2 separate regions of the Homo sapiens genome follow, and region 2 is linked to region 1. Evidence: promoter capture Hi-C in human tissues and cell types (Jung and others, 2019). All regions are on one chromosome and are shown on one strand. The core of a region is centred on a gene start or on the middle of the fragment in contact, and the rest is flanking DNA. Distances in the headings are between cores, read along the strand shown. Region 1 holds the start of PITX3 (paired like homeodomain 3). Region 2 holds the start of LDB1 (LIM domain binding 1).

Region 1 (6,681 bases), core at 1,258-3,757:
AGCTGGGATTACAGGCATCTGCCACCACACCAGGCTAATTTTTGTATTTTTAGTAGAGATGGGGTTTCACCATGTTGGACAGGCTGGTCTCGAACTCCTGACCTCAGGTGATCCACCCGCCTCAGCCTCCCAAAGTGTTGAGATTACAGGTGTGAGCCACCACACCTGGCCACGATGCTCTAGTGTAAAGCACCCATCAGATATCAGACGTGAAGAACCCCTCAGTAACTTCCTACACCTGCACATTGGGCTTCTGGTCGGTGGGTCCAGCTGAGGATCTAGCCTCTATCACCCAAAGAGAGTCAGGGAAAGAGGATATACCATCATAGCACCTCTTTCCACATTACCTCAAAGCCATTTTCCTCTTCATTTGAAAACTGAGAGTTGGTGTCCTGGGCCTGTCTCAGATTGAGAGGTCCTGGAAAGCCGATTGGAAAATCCTCTAAGTGGGCCAAAAATTTCTGCTCGCCAATATCTACTTCTACATACCTCCAGAAATTCATCATTCTAAAAGCATGTGATTGTGCAATAGAGATGGGGAGGAGAGAGATGACAATTCCCTAGTCCCTCCTAACCACTAATCATCATCTTACCAGGCAGAACATCTTCCTCATAGATTTCAGTGTGACATTTATTGAGATTCTACATTATGCCTGGGAATAACAGACATGGTCCTTACCCTCCTAAATTTTATTATCATAGCAGACAACACATAAGCTGATCCCTTCAATATGGTGGGTGGTGTAATAGAAGGTATACACTGAGGGTCATGAGAGCAAGGGGCTAAACTGAGAGTTCAGAAAAGGCTTCCCAGAGAAAATAAGACTTGAGTGGAACATTGGAGGAGTAGGAATTGACAATATAAAGATGGGTTACTTTCACAGGAAGGGCCAGAGGTGTGCAGGACACTACTAGGAAATTGGAGATGAAGACAAGGTCAGGTCCTGAAGGTCTTGTATGCCAGGCTAGGGAGCTTGACCTTTATCCTAAGGGCAATGGGAGTCACTGAACAGTCAAGACATGACTGCTCAGATTTGCCTTAGGGGCATATTGTGTGACTGGGCTTAGGCTCTTTTTTTTTTTTTTTTTTGAGACAGAGTCTTGCTCTGTCGCCCAGTCTGGAGTGCAGTGGCGCGATCTCAGCTCACTGCAAGCTCTGCCTCCTGGGTTCACGCCATTCTTCTTCCTCAGCCTCCCCAGTAGCTGAGACTACAGGCACCCGCCACCAAGCCCGGCTAATTTTTTGTATTTTTTAGTAGAGATGGGGTTTCACCGTGTTAGCCAGGGTGGTCTCAATCTCCTGACCTTGTGATCCGCCCGCCTCGGCCTCCCAAAGTGCTGGGATTACAGGCATGAGCCACAGTGTTTGGCCTGGGCTTAGGCTCTTCGGAGCACCCAAGCAACATAGCCTAACTGGGAGAAGAGAAGGAGCCTGTTTCCTGGAAATTGAGGCCTAAGTCAGAGAGGGCCGAAGTCACAGTCTGCCAGGATGTTCCTTGGTCATCTGTCCTGTCCCTTGCAAATTCCTAACCAGCAGGCACCAAGGCCACACCTTGCCCACAGGACTTAACCTGGTACCACCAGCGGGAAACCAGCCCTGCTGAAGGAGGGAGAGCACAGCCTAAGCAAGACAAGGGTACAGACTGAAAGGCAATGCCTTTGGAGTGCCCAGCCCAAGCCCTGAGATCCAGCAGGAACCTCCTCTTAATTGTTTTGCGCGGGGAGGGAGATGATAGTTACTCGTCCAAGTTCACTCAGTGATGGTGCAGTTCGTGGCAGCGTTGGAATACTACTTTGGTTTGTATCATTCCAAACCCTGCTGTCTCCACGAAGTCACCTTCCTTGGAGAAGAAGGGGGAAATGAAGAAGAGGAAAGATATGAGGAAAGAGGAGCAGAGAGAAAGAGAAATGAGTCTTTTAAAGTGGCAGAGGAAGGAGAATGGTAAACAGCAGGAGCGAAGCGGCTGAGGAGAAAGAAGAGGAAAGAAAGGCGAGACGTGGGAGGATTGGAACAGAGACAAAAGGGAGGAGAGACGGACAGCGACAAGTGGAGAAAATCGGCGAAACTTGAGTGGCAGAGAAGTCTGAGCGCTGAGACCCGGCGGCCCCGTGCGCCTTCCCACCTGGCGCCGATCCACTTTCCTCGGGGTAGCGGCCCAACCCACTTCGCTGCCAGCCGATCCCTTTTACCCGTGGCTACCGGGACCACTCTACTCTCGCCCACTTGGCTCTGCCTAAGCGTCCTAGCCGGAGCGCGGTCTCTGCCACGTGGGGAGGGGCGCGGCCGAGTTGCTGAAGAGCGCTTCTGATTGGCCAGAGGGCGGGGTTCTTGGCGTCTCGCCGGCCAGACCCCTCCCTCAAAGGCGGGGCCTGGAGATCCACAGCTGGAAAGGGCGGAGCCCCAGCAGGGCAGCTGGAAAGGGGCGGGGCCTGACGCGCGCGGCTCGCCGCGGCGGGCTGGGGGCGCCCTGGTCTGCCATAAAGTGAATGGGCGCCGGCTGGGGGTGGCAGTACGCGGTGAGGCTCACTCCCTCCGAGAGTCCAGGAGCGCCCGAGCGGAGAGGCGGCCCGGGAGCAGGGGGGCGGCCCCCACTCCGGCCGGGTGCCCGGCCCCTGGCCCCTGCCTGCCCTCTAGATCGCCGCCGCAGCCGCCGCTACTGGGAGTCTGCCTGTTGCAGGACGCACTGTGAGTGTTTGACCATTCTAAGGACAGGGGCTCATGGGGCCGAGGAGCTATTGCTGGACCTTGGAATCCCTAAAACGAGACCTGGGGCAGCTGAACTCCGGTGCCTTGGGAACAGGTCGAGAATGGGAGGGCGGACTGCAGACCTGGGGCCAGGACTTGGGAAAAGGGAAACTCAGGGTAAGAACCAGGGGATAGGGAAGGGGGAGACTCAGAGGATCCGGAACGAAGCCGGAGACTTGAAACCAGGATAGGGGCTTCGCGAGGCAGGGAGTAGGGAGTCTGGAAACCATTACCAGAAAGCGCCCTGGAATCCCAGGGCACGGGGCAGGCGGCCAGGGAGCGAAAGGGGTTACAGAGGCCCTGGCCAGCGGGGGAGCTGGCGGGGCGGCCCCCAGTGTGGGGGCAGTTGACGGCGCCCGATGCCCCTCGGCCTAGGCTCAGACTCCTGGGGCTGGGAGCCGGGGTGCGCCTGGTCGCACACGCTTCTCTTCCCAGCTGCTCCGCAGTTGGAATAGGAGCTGTGTTGTGAGAGCCCGGCCGCGACTGAGTCAGATGGCCGCTGTGCGGATCAGAGTGACCAGGCGGCGGGTATAGTGGATCTGGCTTGGGGTGTCTGGGCCCAGAAGGGTCCTGACTTGAGGCCGCCTCAGAATCGGACAGAATGTCCGCGGTGCATGGGGCTCGGAGCGGACAGAATGTCCGGGTAGCGAAGTGGGTCTCTCCGGAGCGGGAGTTGTGTCTGGCAGTGGCGGACAGAATGTCCCTGGCTGGGTGGCATGTCCGTCTACCCAGCAGCGCCTGCCCAGCTGCTGCGTGTGCGATGGGGTCGGCTGCGGTGGGTCACCTCAAATCCCAGCTCACACTTTGCAAACTTGTTTCAGCTCCTTCGGGCTGCGAAGCTGTGAGCAGGGAGCGAGAGTAAAGGCTACAACCTGGCCTTGGGGTGAGGTGGGCTGGGACACATGCCCCCTTCAATTCAGAATAGATCAGAGCATCACTCTGTACTTCCAGAATCCAAATTTGAGGACAGAAGGCCAATGAGGAGCCTGCTAGTGGGAATCAAGACCAGGAAAGGAAGGAATAGGTGACAAAAGGCAATGGGAAAACAGGAAGGAGCTGGGTACAAGCCCCTGGCAGCCTCAGTTGCCCCCTAATTCCAATACAATTAACCAGACACCCCCCAGACTCCTTGCTGGAGTATCAGGCGACCAATGGCTCCTTCCCTACAGTGGGCAGGAGCCCAGGCCAGAAGAGAAAACTACAGCCCCATTAGCAAAGCAAATCCTGTGGTCCTGTTTCCCTTTTTCTTCCTCAGCCCTACCAGTCCCAACACCACCCTGGTGGCTGAGCGGAGGTGGGAAGGAGGCTCATGGAATCCAGACTCTGGAGTCCAACAGGGGGCTATCTGGCCCTCTCAGTCTGGTTGGGAAGGATATCTTGGCCCTACCTAACAGCCGGGTTTACTTTCCCTGCAGCTGGGATACAGCCCTGACTCTGCTGGGCCCATACAGTGACCATCCACCCTGACCCCAATTCTAACCACAGCTCAATTATGCTGAAGAGGACAGAACAGGGAGAACGAGTCCATATAAGTGAGCAAGATAGCCCAGCTGGGGACTGAGTTTTCACAAGGACAAGTGCAAGGCATTGTATTTAGCAATGAGTAATCTAAACAGTGGTTTCAACCTTTCTTACCCTTCACCTGTGAGTGACATACAATACGTATTCCCCATACTCCCATGTCCATTCCTCAGTTCTAAAGTTTGCTTATTACTGGCTAGGATTCTCAACTTTTGTTTTTCATTTGCCCTATTTTGATCAATATAAAGACACACCACAATTATCCCCATCACATTCTGATACACTTTTCAGGGGCTTGTGCTCCCATTGCTGTGCTCCCATAAAATCACTGAAATTATAGGTGAAATGAAGGACTCTGTGTCAGGAAAGGAACAGGGAAAGCATTACAGATGGTTCCCTGAAGACTTTAGCTCAAAGTTGGCTTTTGCCAAAAAGGCCAAAGAGGTGGTATCATAATGAAGGTGATTGGAAACAAAAGACAGAACCTTTTCCCACCCTTGCATAAAGCCTTGTAACTGAACGCATGCCTGGTCACTGGCTCTTAGGAAGAATGTCATGGGCCTAGAGTAGGGTCAGAGAATGATTGGCAGAATGGGGAGCCAGGGGTTGCTGGTGAGGGCAAATTTCAAAGTTTAGTCCTCTGGAAGGTGAGACAGGATGGAAATCTACAGCATAATAAAAGACCTAGATATGCAGAAGAATTGCTTGCTCCCCAAATCTTGAAACTGGAGATGAGGGGGCCTTTTAGAACTGGAGTGATGCAAGCTCAGGATGAATAGAAAAATGTTCTTTGGCACACAGTGGGCAGCATACTTCCAGAGCTCATTTCCAGAGAGATGATAGAGGCAGGAAGTAGAAATGGAATCCTTCAGGGTTTGGAAGGATCAGCACATGTCAGAGTCACAAATGGCTACAGGGTGGAGGGAGTGAGGCATGGAAAGAGCAGAACTAGATGGTTTGAATCTCTTCAAATCTCTTCAAACTGTGTAACCTTGCATCCTGCCTTCTTAGAGGTGTAATGGGGATAGGCACTCCAGCCATGCAGGGCAGTTGTGCGAGTTAAATGAAATTATGTCTGTGAAGGCCCTCTGCAAATGGAGGAGCATCATATAAATAAGAAGCACTGCTATTATTATGCCCAAGCTGCAGAATCTTTGTTTGGAAAAGTGGGGCTGAGACTTAGAGCAGCCTAATCTCATCCCTGATGCAGCCATAGGAGGGATCTTAATGACAGACGGGCCACCCTATCGTGGACTTCAGATGCTGGCCACTACCCCTGCCGCTGTCTGAGAACTCTGGGGAGCTCCCCAAATGCTCAGCCTGTCTACCAGGCCAAATATCTCTGCCTGCCTCCTGCTCAGGGATGGGAACATTGGCCCAGGACTCAGGTTCAGGACGGGAGGGCAAACGCAGCAGGCTAGAGCTGACTTGTGGTGACTGAAGGATGGGGCCAGTAGAATCTTTTCTTCTCCATTCACACTAAATGATGCCTCCTAGACTAACCTGAAGGATCCATTAGGTCCTGAGCTTTGGGGTGTCTAGGGTGTCCATGGCCACTGCCAGGGACTCATGAAAAGAATGATGGGGAGGAAAAGGAAAAGATCATCAGTGGGGTAAGAGTTGGGGGAAGACAGAGAGGAATAACTTTCAAAACTCTATCTCTCCTTTCCCATTGTCCTGCCCCGGGGCCTTTTTTACACCTTTCAGTTAATAGTTTCTCCTTTCCTATTTCTTCCCTGCCCAACCCTTTATGCTCACCATGGTCAAATAAAGGTCACAAAGATGCTGTTTTTTGTCACACCCCTGGATACAAGCCTCCAGTGACCCCTACTGCTTGGTGCATTGCTTCTCATAGTGGGGTGGGCGGGGGAGGAGGGCAGTACGGGAGTGGAGGAGGCATGACACACAGTCTAAACAGGGCCCATCTTCCTGGTGTGGTGATATCACTTGAAGATTGGGGGGTTTTATATTAAAAAAAGCTTTATTTTTATATTAAAATATTTTATAATCCATGACTAAAGTATGGAATAGAACGAAAAATTTGTTTGCATTTTTAACATAAAGCTGGTGACCTCAAAACAATTTCATACTAGTGGCAGCTGTTTCAGGTCATGCTTCTGTTTTCTAGTAGATGTTGTTTTTGACTGGTCTTAGGGTTTTTTTCTTTATTCAGGGCTGTTGCTCAGTGTGAATCTTAGCGGTTTTTGATGAAAAAGCTGGACATACTGTAGCCTAGACTTTGTCAAATCTGAACCACTGCCCCTTGTCCCCCATTGGAGGCCCCCTCGGTTTGACTCGTTTCTCTCTGCAGATCTCCCGTGGCCTACACTGAGACTCTGACTAACCTAGGCTCACCACTGCCCTCCCAGCCTGCCAGCTTATTCCCAACACTGCTGATTATTTAGAATGCCATA
Region 2 (6,846 bases), core at 772-3,271, 120 kb after region 1:
TTGATACTCACCAAGCCATAGGTTACAGAGGATAAAGCTAGTGTCCCAGGTGGGGTGGTCAGTTGTCTCAAATCACTCAGGTATTGAGGAGCGAATCTTGCGTTCAAACCTAGGTATCCACAATTTCGGGCCAGTGTTCTGTTGCCTTATGTTCTCTCTACTCCCTCTAGTGCTGACCTTTGTCTGGGAGAATGCAGGGAGGGGGTGCACTCAGGCAGGGGATGCTGCCAAGGAAATACTTGTGTGAGTGTGGATGGCTTCAGTCAGGTCCTCTCTGCTCCTGGTGGGGGTGGAGATGGGGAAACCTGGGGGTGGGAGACTCCACAGTGTACAAGCTCCCCTATCCCCCATCCTAAGCACATGGTGGGGAGGGTCTCCATTCCTAGGCAGGCCTTCTTTTCAATCCCTGGACTCTGCACCGTTCCATCATTTCATGCTCCCTCAGCAAAAACCTAAGGTGGAGAGAAGAGGTCTCATAAACACTTTAAGCCTCCGCATTTGTAACCCTCCCCCAGCCAGTCAAGCCAGCTGTGCAGACTCTGAGCCAGAGTGAGGGAACCAAACAGCCTTCTCAACCAACACCCCTCTAAGTAACAAAGAGGAGAACCCCCTACCCAGTCAGGGCCAGACGCCCTAGGGAGGAGACACTAGTCCAAGTCTCCATCGTCTATCCCTGGAGCCCATACTGAAACTTAAGAAAGAAAAGCTAGCAGCTGGGGACCCCAGGAGGGAGGGGGTCAACTCTCTACTCCAGGCGGCTCCCCTCCCTTCCCTCCTCCTGGCTAATAGGTATTTCCTGTTTATGAGGCAGCTAAAGCTGAGCTTTTGGGAAGGGATGGAGATGGAGCCCCTCCCCTCCTAGGGCTGGGTTGGGGAGTCCTTGAAGTGTGACTGAAGGTTGGGAGGCTCCTCCCAGGGGAAGGAGTGTTCCTTACATTGACCATCCACATCATCTCCCATCCAACCCCCCACGGCCCACAGCCTCTGCCTCTCTGGGTTAGGGGGCACTGGAGGGGCCTGTTTCCTGTTCTCATCTCCGAAGCCCTCAAAGGACAGCAGCTTCCAGGCAGGGGGGTCGGAGGCGGTGGGGTTGGGCGGTTGGTACGGAGGTGAAGGCACCAAGGCTGGAGAAAGGGGGGAAGGGAAGAGAGTGTCTTGACTGATGCGTCAGTCTGCAAGAAGGAAGGATGGCCTCCTATCGCCCCTCCGTAATCCAATCTGGTGGTCATTCCGCAGCCCCCTCCCCCCAGCAAAACACAGATCCCAAGCCCTTAGGCGGAGGAGGGCGGGGACCCCACTTAATTAACCCTTTTAGTTCTAGTCCCAACTGGTTTCGCAGGCAAAGGAGGAGTGGTTAATTTAGGGAAGGGGTGAGTTGAGGGGTTGCTACAAGAATTAAGAGAATGCTTCTTTACCCATCCAGCCTAGGGTAGGGACGCGAAACAAGGGGCCTCCAGAAGAAGGCTGGCGTCTCAGCAGGGAGCACGGACAGGGGGTCTGCAGTCCCTTTTCCCTCCCGGAGCGCGGCCCGGGGTGGAGAGAGATACACCACACTGCCCACCCCGGCTCCGCCTCCCCCAGCCGCGGCTCCCGCTCCGGCTCAGCCAGACTCCCCATCCGGCGGCACCCGGAGGACGGACACCGAGCGCGCGGCTGCGCCTCCAAGCCCTCCCCTTCGCCCTCCCTCTCTGGGGTCTCTGCCTCCGTCTCCTTTTTTAAAAGCTGCGTCACATGCATGCCGTTCCCCGAGCGCTCCCAGCCCCTCGCCGCCCGCCCGCCGCGCGGCGCACGCACGTCGTCGCTTGCTGCGCGCTCTCCCGGGTCACTTTGACACGGCTCTCCCCTCCCACTAGCAGGACAATTAGCATATTAATAAAGCCCGGCCCTGCCCGGCTTGGGCTGGGGAGCCGGCGCCGGCGCGAGGGAGCGCGAGCGCGAGGGCGGAGAGGGGGGCGCTCGGCGACGGCGGCGGGAGCGCACAGACACGCACACGCACACGCGCACACACGCACACACGGACACACACTCCGCGGACTCACACCCGCGCGCACACACGCAGAGGCCGCTCGCCTTCCTGCCTGGCTTCCTTCCTGTCTGCTCCGCGCCTGACAGGCCCCTCGCCGCAGCCAGGGGCCGCCCGCACCGGGCCGAGGCCGGGCCGGGCCGGCGGCGAGCGCAGCGGGGGCCGCGGGCGGCGGCGGCGGCTCATGCCCGGCCTGTCCCCGCGAGGGGCGGGCACCGTGACTCGGCTGGGCCCCCAGAGGCGGGCGATGTGAAGATGTCAGTGGGCTGTGCCTGTCCTGGTGAGTGGGGCGTGCGGCCACTCGGCCCCTTCCTGCCCAGCCGTCCCTGCGGACCCCTCACCCCGTGTTTGGCGAGAACTTGTGTGGGGGGCGTCGATGGCATGGGGGAAGCCGGGGGCTGGAAGGGCTACGCGGGGCCTCAGGCTGGCGGGTAGCGTTTTCCCCAACTGTGTAAATGCGCAGCAGCCCAGAAACACGGGGAGGAGACGCTGGGGGTGGCTTATGTGTATGTTTTTTTGGGGGTAGGCTAATTGGGGAGAGGTTTGGGGGGGGCTGAAATTCTCAGAATTCCAGGTTGTTAGCCAATCAGAAGTGACTCTGGACTTTTGACCCCCCCCCTCAGGTCACCATAGAGTTGTGATTGGCTGGTTTGGGCTGCCCCCCCTTCCCTGCTGCCCATTGCCTCTTACCTATCCTGTGACATCCCCCCCATGCTGTTTCTGAGGACCCTGTTTGCAGGGAGGTATTGATTGCGGCCCATCTTGCCCCCCACCTTCAACTTTTCCTGCCTGTTGCCAGGGAAGGTTGGCCCTCCTGAGGCACCGGAGGTACTCCTAAGAGGTGCCAGATAATTGGACCCTTGGGTCTGGCATCTCCGCCCTAGTGGGAGGGCAGGCTAGGAAATAGAGTGATTTGTGGAGAGGTAAGCTGGGGGAGCAATACTTGACCCAAAACTGAGAACTTGAGAGAGGACCCAGGCTCAGATCCCTGCCTCCCCAAAACATATCAGCTCTTGCCAGGGATAGCCTAGGTCTGAGTTTTTTTCCTGGGGGGCAGGTGGGGGGGGCGGAGGGCGTCTACCTCACTGCCAGGAGGAAAGAGAGAAGCCATGCGACTGGAGAGGTAGTCTACAGAGGGCCTCACGGCACACTGTCTGTCTCCATCCCCGGGACTCTGGGTCCTGGAATTGGCCCTCCTGCCCCAGACTGGAGTCAGCTTTCTCCTGGAAGTCAGTGTCCCTGAATGTAGCCCGCTTTGGCTACATACTTCACAGCTGGACACCCACCACTCCCCCACAAATCCCCAAGGGAAGCTGCCAGTGCGGAAGCTTCCTTGAAAATCATGTGACCCAGGCCAAGCTGGGCTGGGCACACACTTCAGGTGCCTGCTGAGGCTGATGTCTAAGGGGCATGGGTCCCAGAAGGAGGAATAAGAGAACCTAACAATCCTAGAATATCCGAGTATGGGAACCACTGGCTCCTGCTGCAGAGGGTTGGGGAGAGGAGAGGGAAGAGCTTGCCAAGCTGGAATCCTGTCTGGCCCCGTCGTCCCTCTTTCTACCAGCTTGGTGTACATGTTTATGTTGTGGATTTTCTCCTTTATAATTGACCCATGCTGGGTACCCCTTTCAGATCCATCATGTTCTTAGCCCACCCCAGGGCCCTGACCCTCCATCAACACACATGAGCAGAGCAGTTAAACTAAGGATCTGAACAAGCTAGAGGGATGAGTCTTAAATTGTGATTCTTAGTTCCTACAAATAGTGGGTAAGCGGGTATGTATGTATGGAGGGGTTGTCAGGCTGGAGGTGGATGGGAGGTTGGCCCTGAAGTTGGGGCAGGGTGCCTGGGTCCAGTGGGAGGAGAGAGAAAATCTCTTCTTCTTAGTCTCTGGGAGCAGCATGGGAACAGGAAGAGGGCCCAAGCCCAGGGGTTTGTGGGTGGGTGGGAAGACAACTTCAGTCAATGCCCCAGAAGGCATGTTCCTTTTGTGTCTGGTGGTCTGACTGAGGGAGAGAGGGCAAAAGATAGGGAAGAGTGGGGAGTCTTTTTCCAGATCATGAAGAAGTCTTATAGATTGATGCCAAAGAGGGTGGATGGAGGTTAGACTTCAAGGAGAACCACATGGGGAGGGCTTCAGAGTAGACTGGAGGTGGGGAATAGTAGCAGTTGAGGTTAGAGAGGGGACCTGGCTTGCAGCTTGCTTGGATGGGGGAGCACATGCTTGAACACAAGGAAGGCATGGCAGCATGTAGCAGTCCAGGCCCAAAGATTTCCCCCACCTTGAGCAGCCCTGGGGTGAGGGCTGAGGCGCCCTGGCAGGCCGCCTGCCGCCTGCCTGCCTGCCTGTCTGAGTCTCTCCTTTGTGTTCTGCTGTCTCCGGGCTCCTCCTCCTCCCCCAGCCCGGCAGAGACAGCACATGCCCCACACATGTGACTGAGGGAAGCCAGAGCGCACACAGACCCACACACATGCACACGCAGAAGCACCACAAGATACACACATACACATGCCCAACACCCATATTGCTCCTGGGGTGAGGACCAGCTTCTGGGGCTGGAATGGCTGGGAGCAGGGAGAGCCTCTGACTAAGGGGCATCACCCTGAGCAAGAGGCTGAGGGGGCCAGGGCCTGTCTGGGGCAGCATGTGGCTCAGAAGGGTTAAGGCAGGGAGGAGTAGGGGGAGGGGAGGAGGCAGCAGTGGTGGCGGCTGGGAGCCAGGAGAGGAGGATGGCAGAGCGCCAGGCCAACGGGAGGCCGGGCACAGACAAAGGAAGGGGGGCAGGCACACTGGAGGCCTGGGTCAGGGAGCCCCAGGGGCCCGGGCAGGGGGCAGTGCTGGTACCTCATCCTGTGGGCTGGGGCTGGCTGCTGTCCTTTGAGTCCCCACCTCCAGGAGGAGTACTTTCCCTCATCATCTTTGTCATTATTTGCTGCTCCCTCCACCTCACCACCAATTCTAAGGCCTTCTAACTCAGACTTGCTCTTTTTAGCTGGACCTGTTCTGCCCCTGTGCAACTGGGTAAATCTGGTCAGAGCAGAGAAAGGAGCAGACTTGCTAGAGAATAACTAGAAGGCCTGTTTTGAATGGTTTGCCAGTCGATACATCTTGGCATTTAGGGGCCCCTCCACCCCACAGCGAGACTGGAGGGCCCTTGTAGTCCCTCCTGTCTGAGGAGACAGGGTGGGTGTGGGGTTCTGAGCTCTGGGCTGGAGGCAAAAGCCAGAGCACATTTCCCCCTCCCCATGAGGACAGTGATTTGAGGCCTGGAGGGGGAAGGGAGTAGGAATGGCTGCAGGGCTTGGCTTGTATCTGGTGGGTTTAGAAGTGCAGGGTTCAACCCCCCCACCCCCCAGCCCACCCTGGTCATCCTGTCTCAGTGGGTTCTGTTAGGATCTCACTGTTAGGATATTTGGCCCTATGTGCTATGAGGATCTCTTGAGGTACTGCCTGTGAATGCACTTTGGAAAGTTTAAAGGCAGTGGGGGAGAAGTGGGACTACCCCAGAGTTAAGCTGTAAATTTGGGAGTCAGTGGGAGTGTCTTAAGTCCTGGTGATAGGCTGTATGTTGCAGGGTCTGGCTGAATGTTATAGATTTCAGTATGTTTGTGAAAGCTGGGGTTTATTCTATGGCCAGGCTGTGATGAGGAATGGTACGCAGGCTTCAGAGAGGGTGATTTATAGGTTAAGTCCTTGCATAATAAATGATCGGGGTGTGTATGTGATAGGCTGTCACAGGTTTAGGGGTTATAACACAGTTTTGGTGTGTGTATTGAGGTCAGGATGCGTGTCATAGGTCCCAGTGTGTATGACTTAGACTGTGTGTGTGTGTATATATCCAGGATTTGGGTATATTTAGGATTTGAGATATATCACAGGTTGATGGCCAGACGCGGTGGCTCACATCTGTAATACTAGCACTTTGGGAGGCCAAGGTGGGTGGATCACCTGAGGTCAGGCGTTCGAGACCAGCCTGGCCAACATAGTGAAACCTGTCTCTACTAAAAATACAAAAATTAGCTGGGTGTGGTGGCATGCACCTGTAATCTCAGCTACTCAGGAGGCTGAGGCAGGAGAATCGCTTGAACCCAGGAGCTGGAGGTTGCAGTGAGCCGAGATCGCGCCACTGCACTCCAGCCTAAGCAACAGAGCGAGACTCCGTCTTGGAAAAAAGATATATCACAGGTTGAAATGTGTATCAGGTAGTGATTTATGTGAAAGTGAGATGTGTTATTTATGTGGAAGATGTTCACAGAGCCAGGTGCAATATTACTGCACAGTTAACTAGTGAGTATGTCATAAGAAATCCTGTCCTTGGAGTTATGTGTGAATATAGTTGGGGGTAGGAGACAGGAAGTAGAGAAACAGACACTCAAATTGCAAAGAAGGAAATAGAAGGTTCGTGCTCCCCCTTCCCGTGTGTGTGTGTGTGTTTGTGTGTGTGTGTGTGTACTATGTATTTTCCTTTTCCTATTTGTCCACGAGTAAGGTCTGGCCCACTACCCAAGTTTTAGAAATATTCCCTCCTGCTACAACAAAATTACCTTAGGAAAAAAAATAGAAATATCTGCTCCCTTGGGATGCCCTGCTGGATGGGAGAACAGGTCCTATCCACTAACCACACGTTTTTTTTTCTGGGGTGGTGGGGAGGATTCAGCAGCAAACTAAGCTCCTTCTGGGGACCCTTGGATGGCCAAGTTGGCTTTCCCTAGCTCTGACAATGCCTCTTTCCCTGGCACCCACTTGTCTTCAGTGGTGGTGGGGAAGGGGGCTTCCTGTTAAGGGGGATCTAAGTCAAGGCTTGGAATTTAGCTGGGTTGGG

The links. Contacts are between HindIII fragments. The study calls those that stand out against the background at their distance.
Region 2: a contact is called between the fragment with the promoter of LDB1 here and the fragment with the promoter of PITX3 in region 1, in 2 of the 25 tissues and cell types used here (IMR-90 fibroblasts and ovary).

Annotation. Positions count from the first base shown.
Region 1 is chr10:102,237,338-102,244,018 of GRCh38, reverse strand. PITX3 (paired like homeodomain 3) reads left to right here and starts at 2,507. Exons shown (of 4, transcript NM_005029.4): 1 at 2,507-2,686. It also overlaps a transcript of GBF1 not described here. RefSeq lists a silencer at 2,356-2,645. The HindIII fragment of the contact is 21,724 bases long and covers 1-6,681 here.
Region 2 is chr10:102,115,543-102,122,388 of GRCh38, reverse strand. LDB1 (LIM domain binding 1) reads left to right here and starts at 2,021. Exons shown (of 11, transcript NM_001113407.3): 1 at 2,021-2,303. The coding sequence starts at 2,279. It also overlaps a transcript of PPRC1 not described here. RefSeq lists enhancers at 1-631, 632-1,383, 1,384-2,135, 3,841-4,542, 4,543-5,245 and silencers at 1,632-1,761, 1,782-2,081, 2,142-2,221, 2,312-2,381, 4,715-4,954. The HindIII fragment of the contact is 10,982 bases long and covers 1-6,846 here.